3 separate regions of the Homo sapiens genome follow, and regions 2 and 3 are each linked to region 1. The links are contacts of gene promoters, found by promoter capture Hi-C in blood cells and fetal thymus (Javierre and others, 2016). All regions are on one chromosome and are shown on one strand. Each heading gives the region's core, a stretch centred on a gene start or on the middle of the fragment in contact. The rest is flanking DNA. Distances are from core to core; before and after follow the strand shown.

Region 1 (2,701 bases), core at 75-2,574:
GTGCCAGCTTGGACACCCTCTGTCCCTGAGGACAGCAGAAGCCAGCCTTCATCTTCTGCTCTTGTCCCCTGCAGGCTGAGCTGCTGTACAAGAAGAACCCAAAGCTACTGAACCAGTTACAGTACTGTGAGGAGGCAGGCATCCCACTGGTGGCTATCATCGGCGAGCAGGAACTCAAGGATGGGGTCATCAAGCTCCGTTCAGTGACGAGCAGGGAAGAGGTGAGGGAGGTGGGCAGGAAGGCTAAGGGACAGAGAATGTATGCCATTTTGGCAGGCCCATGCCCATTCAAGACCTGAGAAAAAGCCTGGCATTGATATTAGTACAACTCATAAAAGCCTTGAGGGCTTAACCTGTTACTGTGGTCTTAGTAGGGTGAGATCTCCATCCCTGCATATACCTTATGGTTTGTTGGCTCCCCCAAGAGGCACACTCTAGCCTGAGGTGTTTAATTAGGTTCCTGCTCCCAGCTGAGACAAGCCTGATGCCTAGAGGGCTAGAGGAAACTAGGCACTCGGGGAGCAGTGGAATGGAAGATGCTTATACCACCTTCTTCTCCCATCCTGGCCAGGTGGATGTCCGAAGAGAAGACCTTGTGGAGGAAATCAAAAGGAGAACAGGCCAGCCCCTCTGCATCTGCTGAACTGAACAAACTATCAGAGGAAAGGAAGTGGGACTGGCACTATTTGAGGTTAAGACAAACTGCATATGTACTTCAATTGCTTTGCACTTTTCCGTTTCAGCGGAAGACCTGAAGAGTGGTCAGAACAGAGCCTTTGATTTTTATTATGGTTATTTTATTGATTATTACTGGCAAAAACGGCCAGGTACAACACCTTTTTCATACAAGGCCCAGGAGGCTTAGTCCAGTCTGTGCTCCTGGGCTACAAGGACCCAGCCTGAGATGGTCCCATCTGCAGGGCCCCGCACCAGTTGGAGCAGATGCCTCCCCACCACCAATTGCCAAAGGTCCAATAAAATGCCTCAACCACGGAGTCTGCGTGTGTCAGTGATGCCTAGCCCCGCCTTCCCCAGCAGACCAATGTAGGGATGGAAAAGGGAGAAAAACAGTAAACTTGTGACCCTGAGGTTCTTGTCTCCAGCGTCCACCCTGCGGCTTGGGAGCTCCTCCTCGGGAGGCAGCCCCCGTACATACGCACCCGCGACTTTGCAGCTTTCACCTGAAGGTCTGAGCGAAGCCCGGGCGGCGCACGTGCAGTGGATACCTCCACCCCCCTGGGAGGCGGGGTCGCGCTCAGAGCCAATGAGAGCTTGCGGGGTGGAGGGGTAGGGAAGCTTCCAGAGGCCGGTGGGGAGGAAGTTATAAAGAGGGTACGAGGGGGCCAGCTGGAGAGCCATGCAGTCCAAGCGGGATTGTGAGGTAAGCGGCTGGCGACTTGGGGGCCGGCGAGCCCCGCCGGAGCGGGGGTCGGCTTTAGGGACCCCAGTACCACAGGAGAGGTGGGGGCGCGCTTGGCGATCCGCCATTCCAACCTTCCTTTCCCTCTCAGCTGTGGTGTGAGAGGGTGAATCCAGAGAACAAGGCGGCGCTGGAGGCGTGGGTCAGGGAGACAGGCATCCGCCTGGTGCAGGTGAACGGGCAGAGGAAGTATGGCGGGCCACCCCCAGGTACGGTAGTCCCAGCCCCTCCGCCTGTCCGGCTACACCAGCCCCCTTTGGGGGAGGGGCTGCTCCGAGCCTTCACTGTCAGAAACTGCGAACTACCCGGATTTATACCCCCCAGCAAAGGAGGAACTGTGGCTCCACGTCCACCCGCCCCGTCGAGGGAGGGGGCCAATCTCAAGGTGTACCTACTCTGTGCCAGCCCCCTTGTTAGCGCAGTCACCTAATTATGCCAACCACCCAGGGTACGGGTGTAAACCCATTTCACAGACCTTTGTTCACATCGCCTCCCACCCCCGCGCGCTGGGTCCGTGGGCTCAGAATTCGAAAGCGTCGCCTGACGGTGGCCTTGCATACCCTCTTCCCACAGGCTGGGTGGGCAGCCCGCCGCCAGCTGGGTCAGAGGTGTTCATCGGGCGGCTGCCTCAGGACGTGTACGAGCACCAGCTTATCCCGCTGTTCCAGCGCGTGGGCCGCCTCTACGAGTTCCGCCTGATGATGACCTTCAGCGGCCTGAACCGCGGCTTCGCCTATGCCCGCTACAGCTCGAGGCGCGGCGCGCAGGCCGCCATCGCCACGCTGCACAACCATCCGCTGCGGCCGTCCTGCCCGCTGCTCGTGTGCCGCAGCACCGAGAAGTGTGAGCTGAGCGTTGACGGCCTGCCGCCGAATCTGACCCGCAGCGCGCTGCTGCTCGCGCTGCAGCCGCTGGGTCCCGGCTTGCAGGAGGCGCGGCTGCTGCCCAGCCCCGGACCGGCGCCCGGGCAGATCGCTCTGCTCAAATTCAGCTCGCACCGGGCCGCTGCCATGGCCAAAAAGGCCCTGGTGGAAGGTAGGCTGGGGCGGGGGTGCTGGTTGGGGCCAAACGCGTTCTGCCCGGCACTTTATACTGAGCATAGCTGTTAAAGTTACAAGATCTTAGAGTCAAACATGCCAGAATTTGCAACCTTTTACTATTTGATCTCAGATTTTTAAAACTTCCAATGGTGCTACCACCACCGCTTACCTAAATTTGTGACACTTCCCGAGCATTACCTCCTGACTTAATTCTCAACCTTCCCCCACCCCCACACCGCAA
Region 2 (2,701 bases), core at 124-2,623, 320 kb after region 1:
TTCAAGGGCTGTGCAGGATTCACTTCTGGTCAGAGGGGAATGAGAAGGCAGCTGAATCCTCTCCCCCAGGGGGCACAGCTTCCCTCTGACCTCTGAGCCTGAGTTGCTTTTTTGGGTTGAGGTTTCCAAAACTCTGGGTGGCCTTGCAGATCTAGCATCTCTTTGATAAGCATGGCCATCTCCCAGAAAGGAACACTTCATCTCTGAGGATGGCTAGCTCATGATAAACCAACATTTTATTCAAGTTCCCACTTAAAAAGAAAAAGGAAAGAAAGCAAGAAAAAAATTTGGTCATAATAACCGCTGTCATTGAGTAAGTACCTACTATGTGCCAGGCATCATATTCCGCTTTATACACATGATCTGACTGAATCATCACAAAAGCCCTATAATAATAACTACTATTATTGTCCCCACTTTTCAGGTGAGCAAACTGTAGGTAAGAGAAATTGAATAACATGTTCAAAGTTAGAAAGAAAAAAAAACCAACAAAATTTGAACCCCCAAGTATCTGACTCCCAAGACTGTATCCATTTCATTAGCTGCCCTGCTGTGCTTACCTAAGCATCCTTCCAGTCTAGTGAGCCAGAGTTTCTTATTATCCCTCAGAACAGATGAAGGACTGAAACTCAGTAAAACTGATAATGTTACCCTCCACAGAAGCATAGAGATGGCGGCTGTCGTCTCATCCATTTGAGTGTTGAGCTTAGGAGAGCACAAGCCCAAGTGAACGAGGGGGTTTCAAATTGAGGCTGAGACACTCACTAGCTGGGTGACCTTGGGATGTTACCTTTTAAAGCTTCAATCCTTTAAAATGCAGATGATGATAACAGTGTCTAGTTTGGGGGATGTTGTGAGGATCAAGCAAGATAATGCATGTGCAGTGTTGATTACAGGGGAATTGTCACCACTAGCACCGCTTTCTTCCAGGTCCTCCCCACTGGGGAGCAAGTGCTCTCTCCAAATCAAGAACTCTGGCCTAGCAGTGAGTCAGCAGCACTCAGAGTCCCATGGAGCCTGCCTTTCCAGAGGCCCAGGAAACTCGCATGGGCTGGGAAGCAGGATGCCAGGGTTTCTGCTCTGCACTTGCCCCCTTCTGACTCACTGGTGGCCCAGGGCTAATCAGTCTCCAAGCCTCAGTTTGCTCATGGTCAATAGACAGTCAATAAAAGCAGGCTTGTCTGTCTGAACTCTACTTCCTTAGGACTATGTTCCTGGCATTTGACAACCTGACATCCAGAGAGCAGGTGGGGGAGACCTGAGCAGGAGGAGGGGACAATATGGAGGAATCCTGCATGACAGTGCTGTCTCATTGACATCTCATATGATTCTGACAATAATGGGGCATAAAATCCAGTGTCTACCTTGGCTTATAACGTCCTCTTTTATCTGTTGCTAGCCTTTGTTCCAATATCATCCCATATCTCTCCTTTTTTGGCCCTCTTGCTTTTCCTTGAATGCTCCCAACTTTTTTCCATTTCAGAGTCTTTGCACTATTTGCACATCTTGGAATGCTTTTGTCATAGATGATCCCAAATCTGATTTCTTCTTCTCATTCAGGCCTCAGCTTACATGTCACCTGCTCAGAGAAGGCTTTGCTAATCAGTTTAAAGTGTCATCCTGGGCACTGGAACATATTATCCTACAGCACATCATTGTATTTTAACTTTCATCTTAGCAGTTATCACTATAGGATATGTTTTTCCTTGTTTATTTCCTTAATGTGCTGCCTGTCTACTATAGAATATAAGCTCTGTGAAAGCAGGTCCTGGGCTGTCTTATTTATTTCTATGTCCCCAGTGCCCCCCAAAAATGTTCAGTTAATGTTTATGATATAATTGAGTTAATGAGATTGCCTCAGCATGAATTGTGATTCCTTTTCTTTGCTCAGAGACATCCAAGATTCTGAGAGGGGAAGTGACTGTCCCAAATCCAATTCAAGCTTTTTATCTTCTTTTTTCAGGCCCTTCCTGTAAAACCTGGCTGACACACAAACCTAGCTGGGGTGAGGCTCCAGGTGTGATGAAAGTTTGGAGTTGCCCCATGAATGGGACTGAGGCTGATGTGGGGGTGAGAAGGCGGAAGGACAGAGCATGTGAAGGGAGAAAGGCAGGCTGGGGCAAGAGAGCAGGGTGTGACTCTGGCGAGGGTGGGGGAAAGGGGGTGATTTGACCATGTGTCAGGAAGTGTTTCTCTCCACCCTCCCCTGGGGAGAGCCTTGACCCCAAGGTGGCTTTGTTTTGGGGAAGCAGGTGGCCAGGCAGCTGCTGAGGGAGGGCAAAGTCATGGCTTGGGCGGTGACCATGCACTGAGGTCCTAGGCCCGATACTCATCACCCAAAAGGATAATCTAACAGTGGCTCTTAGCCAAATAGGTGACAGGTGAGCTTCTGTCTGAAACCAGCCCAACTATATCATAAAGCCTCAGATATGGCCTAGGGGAAGGCAAGCGATCTAGAGAAGTGAGAGAAAAGAGGCCTCTAAGGAAATAGAGTGGTCAAGTGCTTAGTGATTATTATTAACAGCAACAATAATAATGGGTCACATTTATTGAGAGCTTATAGTGTGCCTGGCACTATACTAACTACTTTTATGTGTTCCCGCATTCATTTCTCAAAAAGCTCCCTACAAAGTAGTCATTATTATTATTGTTATTATTTTTTCCATTTGAGAGACGTCAAAACTGAGGCTCAGTGAAATTA
Region 3 (2,701 bases), core at 137-2,636, 290 kb after region 1:
CCTGCAGCCCTCAAGACCTTTTCAGGGGAATCCATGAAGTCAAAACTATTTTCATTATAATTCTAATATATTATTTTTCACTATATTGACTTGCACTGATGGTACAAAAGCAATGGGGGGGGGGGCTAAAAATTTGCTGGTACTGCTGGGTGTGGTGGTGCACGCCTGTAGTCCCTGCTACTCAAGAGGCCAAGGCAGGAGGATTGCTTGAGCCCAGGAGTTTAAGGCTACAGTGAGCTATGATCTCACCACTGCAATCCAGCCTGGGCAACAGAGTGAGCTCCTGTTTCTAAAAAACAAACAAAGATAGCTGGTACCTCAGCACAGTATTAGGTAATGGTATCAAACTGTACTAGCAGTAAATGTATTCTTCCCCATTGGGCACTCAAAGCAGGAAAAGGCCGATTTTATTAAGAATCCTTGATGAAGCAGTAAAAATTAATTTTATTAAAACTTGACCCTTGAGTACAAGTGTTTTTAATATTCTATGTGAGGAAATGAGAAGGATACACAGAGCACTTCTGCTATATATCAAAGTACATTTGTTATCTCAAGGAGCATAGCTATTTTGGTTGCAAGCTGCATTGGCCTTTTTTGTTTTCATAGAACACCATTTTTACTTGAAAATAGCACTGACAGGCAAATGTTGGTAATTCAGATGTGGATATTTGGCAGACATTCTCTGGAGCCTGTCACTTGAAGGAAAACACCTGACAATATTTATTTCCAATGATAAAATTCAAAACCTTTGAGCAAAAATGAGAATTTTGGAAAATTGTATATATTCCTGGTTGACAGTTTTCTAAAAGCTTTAAAAACTTTTTTGATGAGATAAATCATGGTATTAATAAATGTGTTTTTTATATTATATAATAAAAATGTGTCAATATTTGAAAGATCTGCACAGTTCAGTGAACCAATGTTTTCCAAATGACCAATCATGATGTTACAAAATCATACATGTGTAAAAGATCCACTGAAAGTATATTAGGCCAGGCGCGGTGGCTCATGCCTGTAATCCCAACATTTTGGGAGGCCAAGGCAGGTGGATCACTTGAGGTCAGGAGTTCGAGACCAGACTGGCCAACATAGTGAAACCCCGTCTCTATTAACAATACAAAAATTAGCTGGGTATGGTGGTGAGCACCTGTAGTCCCAGCTACTCGGGAGGCTGAGGTATGAGAATCGCTTGAACCCAGGAGGCAGAGGTTACAGTGAGCTGAGATGGCACCACTGCACTCCAGCCTGGGCAACAGAGCGAGACTCCATCTAAAAAAAAAAAAAAGAAAGTACATAATAGGCCTGTAATCCCAGCACTTTGGGAGGCTGAGGCAGGAGGATCGCTTGAGCCCACGAGTTCCAGACCAGCCTGGGCAACATAGGGACACCCTGTCTCTACAAATAATTTTTTTTGATTAGGGCTGGGCACCGTGGCTCATGCCTATAATCCCAGCACTTTGGGAGGCCAAAGCTGGAGGATCACTTGAGCTCAGAAGTTCAAGATCAGCCTAGGCAACATGGCAAAACCCTGTCTCTACTAAAAATATAAAAAATTAGCTGGGTGTGGTGGCACATGCCTGTAGTCTGAGGTGGGAGGATCGCCTGAGCCCAGGAAGTCAAGGCTGAAATGAGCAGTGATTGCAGACACTGCACTCCACCCTGGGTAGCTGAGCAAGACCCTGTCTCAAAACAACAACACAGAATGAAAGTATGTGATAGACCAATGGATTTTAATATAACAGAGTATGGACATTTTATAGTTATGGTCTCAACCTTTAAGAAACTAACAGTTGTTGGATTTTGGTGTATTGAAGGGAATATCCAGTTTTCTGAAAAATCTGTTGAAGTATTTCTTCCTTTTCCAACTACATAGCTGTGTTGAGCCAGATTTTCTTCATATTCTTCAACCAAAACACTCATGGATTTGACTGAATACAGAAGCAGATATAAGAATCAAGCTTTTATAAAGCCAGACATTGAAGATGCCACTCTTCTCATTAAATTTTTTTGTTTTGAAAAAAATTTTTTTGGTCAGCTGTGGTGGCTCATGCTTGTAATCCCAGCACTTTGGGAAGCCGAGGCAGGCAGATTCACCTGAGGTCAGGAGTTCGAGACCAGCCTGGTCAACATGGTGAAACCCCGTCTCTACTAAAAATACAAAAATTAGCCAGGCATGGTGGCGTGCACCTGTAATCCCAACTACCTGGGAAGCTGAGGCAGGAGAATTGCTTGAACCCCAGCAGCTGAGGTTGCAGTGAGCCAAGATTGCATCATTGCCCTCCAGCCTGGGCAACAAGAGTGGAAACCCGTCTCAAAAAAAAAGAAAAAGAAAGAAAGAAAATGGCAGAGGAAGCCGGGCACAGTGGCTCACACCTGTAATCCCAGCACTTTGGGAGGCTGAGGTGGGCAGATTACTTGAGCTCAGGAGTTTGAGACCAGCCTGGCCAACATGGTGAAACTCCATCTCTACAAAAGATACAAAACTTAAATGAGCATGGTGGCAGGCGCCTATAGTCCCAGCTACTTGGGAGGTTAAGGTGGGAGGATCGCTTGAACCCAAGAAGCAGAGGTTGCAGTGAGCTGACATCCCACCAATGCACTCCAGCCTGGCTGACACAGCAAGACTGTCTCAAAAATAGATAGGGAAAATAGCAGAGGATCTAGTGAAGGAACATGGTCTAGTTTGCATCACTGCACATTA

What was found. The method cuts DNA at HindIII sites, captures the fragments that hold promoters and counts their contacts. A CHiCAGO score of 5 or more calls a contact.
Region 2: a fragment that was not itself captured here is called in contact with the fragment with the promoter of DND1 in region 1 in 5 of 17 cell types (fetal thymus, erythroblasts, naive B cells and 2 more); the score reaches 7.8 in fetal thymus.
Region 3: a contact is called between a fragment that was not itself captured here and the fragment with the promoter of DND1 in region 1, in 11 of 17 cell types (neutrophils, total CD4 T cells, activated CD4 T cells and 8 more). The highest score is 7.6, in neutrophils.

What each region holds. Positions count from the first base shown.
Region 1 is chr5:140,672,199-140,674,899 of GRCh38, reverse strand. DND1 (DND microRNA-mediated repression inhibitor 1) reads left to right here and starts at 1,324. Exons shown (of 4, transcript NM_194249.3): 1 at 1,324-1,381; 2 at 1,512-1,629; 3 at 1,994-2,455. The coding sequence starts at 1,358. It overlaps WDR55 (WD repeat domain 55), which reads right to left. Exons shown (of 7, transcript NM_017706.5): 7 at 2,555-2,701. It overlaps HARS1 (histidyl-tRNA synthetase 1), which reads left to right. Exons shown (of 13, transcript NM_002109.6): 12 at 75-221; 13 at 572-995. The coding sequence ends at 643. RefSeq lists enhancers at 859-1,654, 1,655-2,450. The HindIII fragment of the contact is 8,462 bases long and covers 1,299-2,701 here.
Region 2 is chr5:140,347,803-140,350,503 of GRCh38, reverse strand. No RefSeq gene overlaps it. Among named protein-coding and RNA genes, the nearest start is that of HBEGF, 2.6 kb to the right of the region's middle. The HindIII fragment of the contact is 1,143 bases long and covers 802-1,944 here.
Region 3 is chr5:140,385,800-140,388,500 of GRCh38, reverse strand. The region is part of intron 1 of ANKHD1-DT (ANKHD1 divergent transcript); the gene reads left to right. It overlaps LOC124901087 (a long non-coding RNA gene), which reads right to left. Exons shown (of 2, transcript XR_007058967.1): 2 at 1,712-1,928. Among named protein-coding and RNA genes, the nearest start is that of ANKHD1-DT, 14 kb to the left of the region's middle. The HindIII fragment of the contact is 1,149 bases long and covers 812-1,960 here.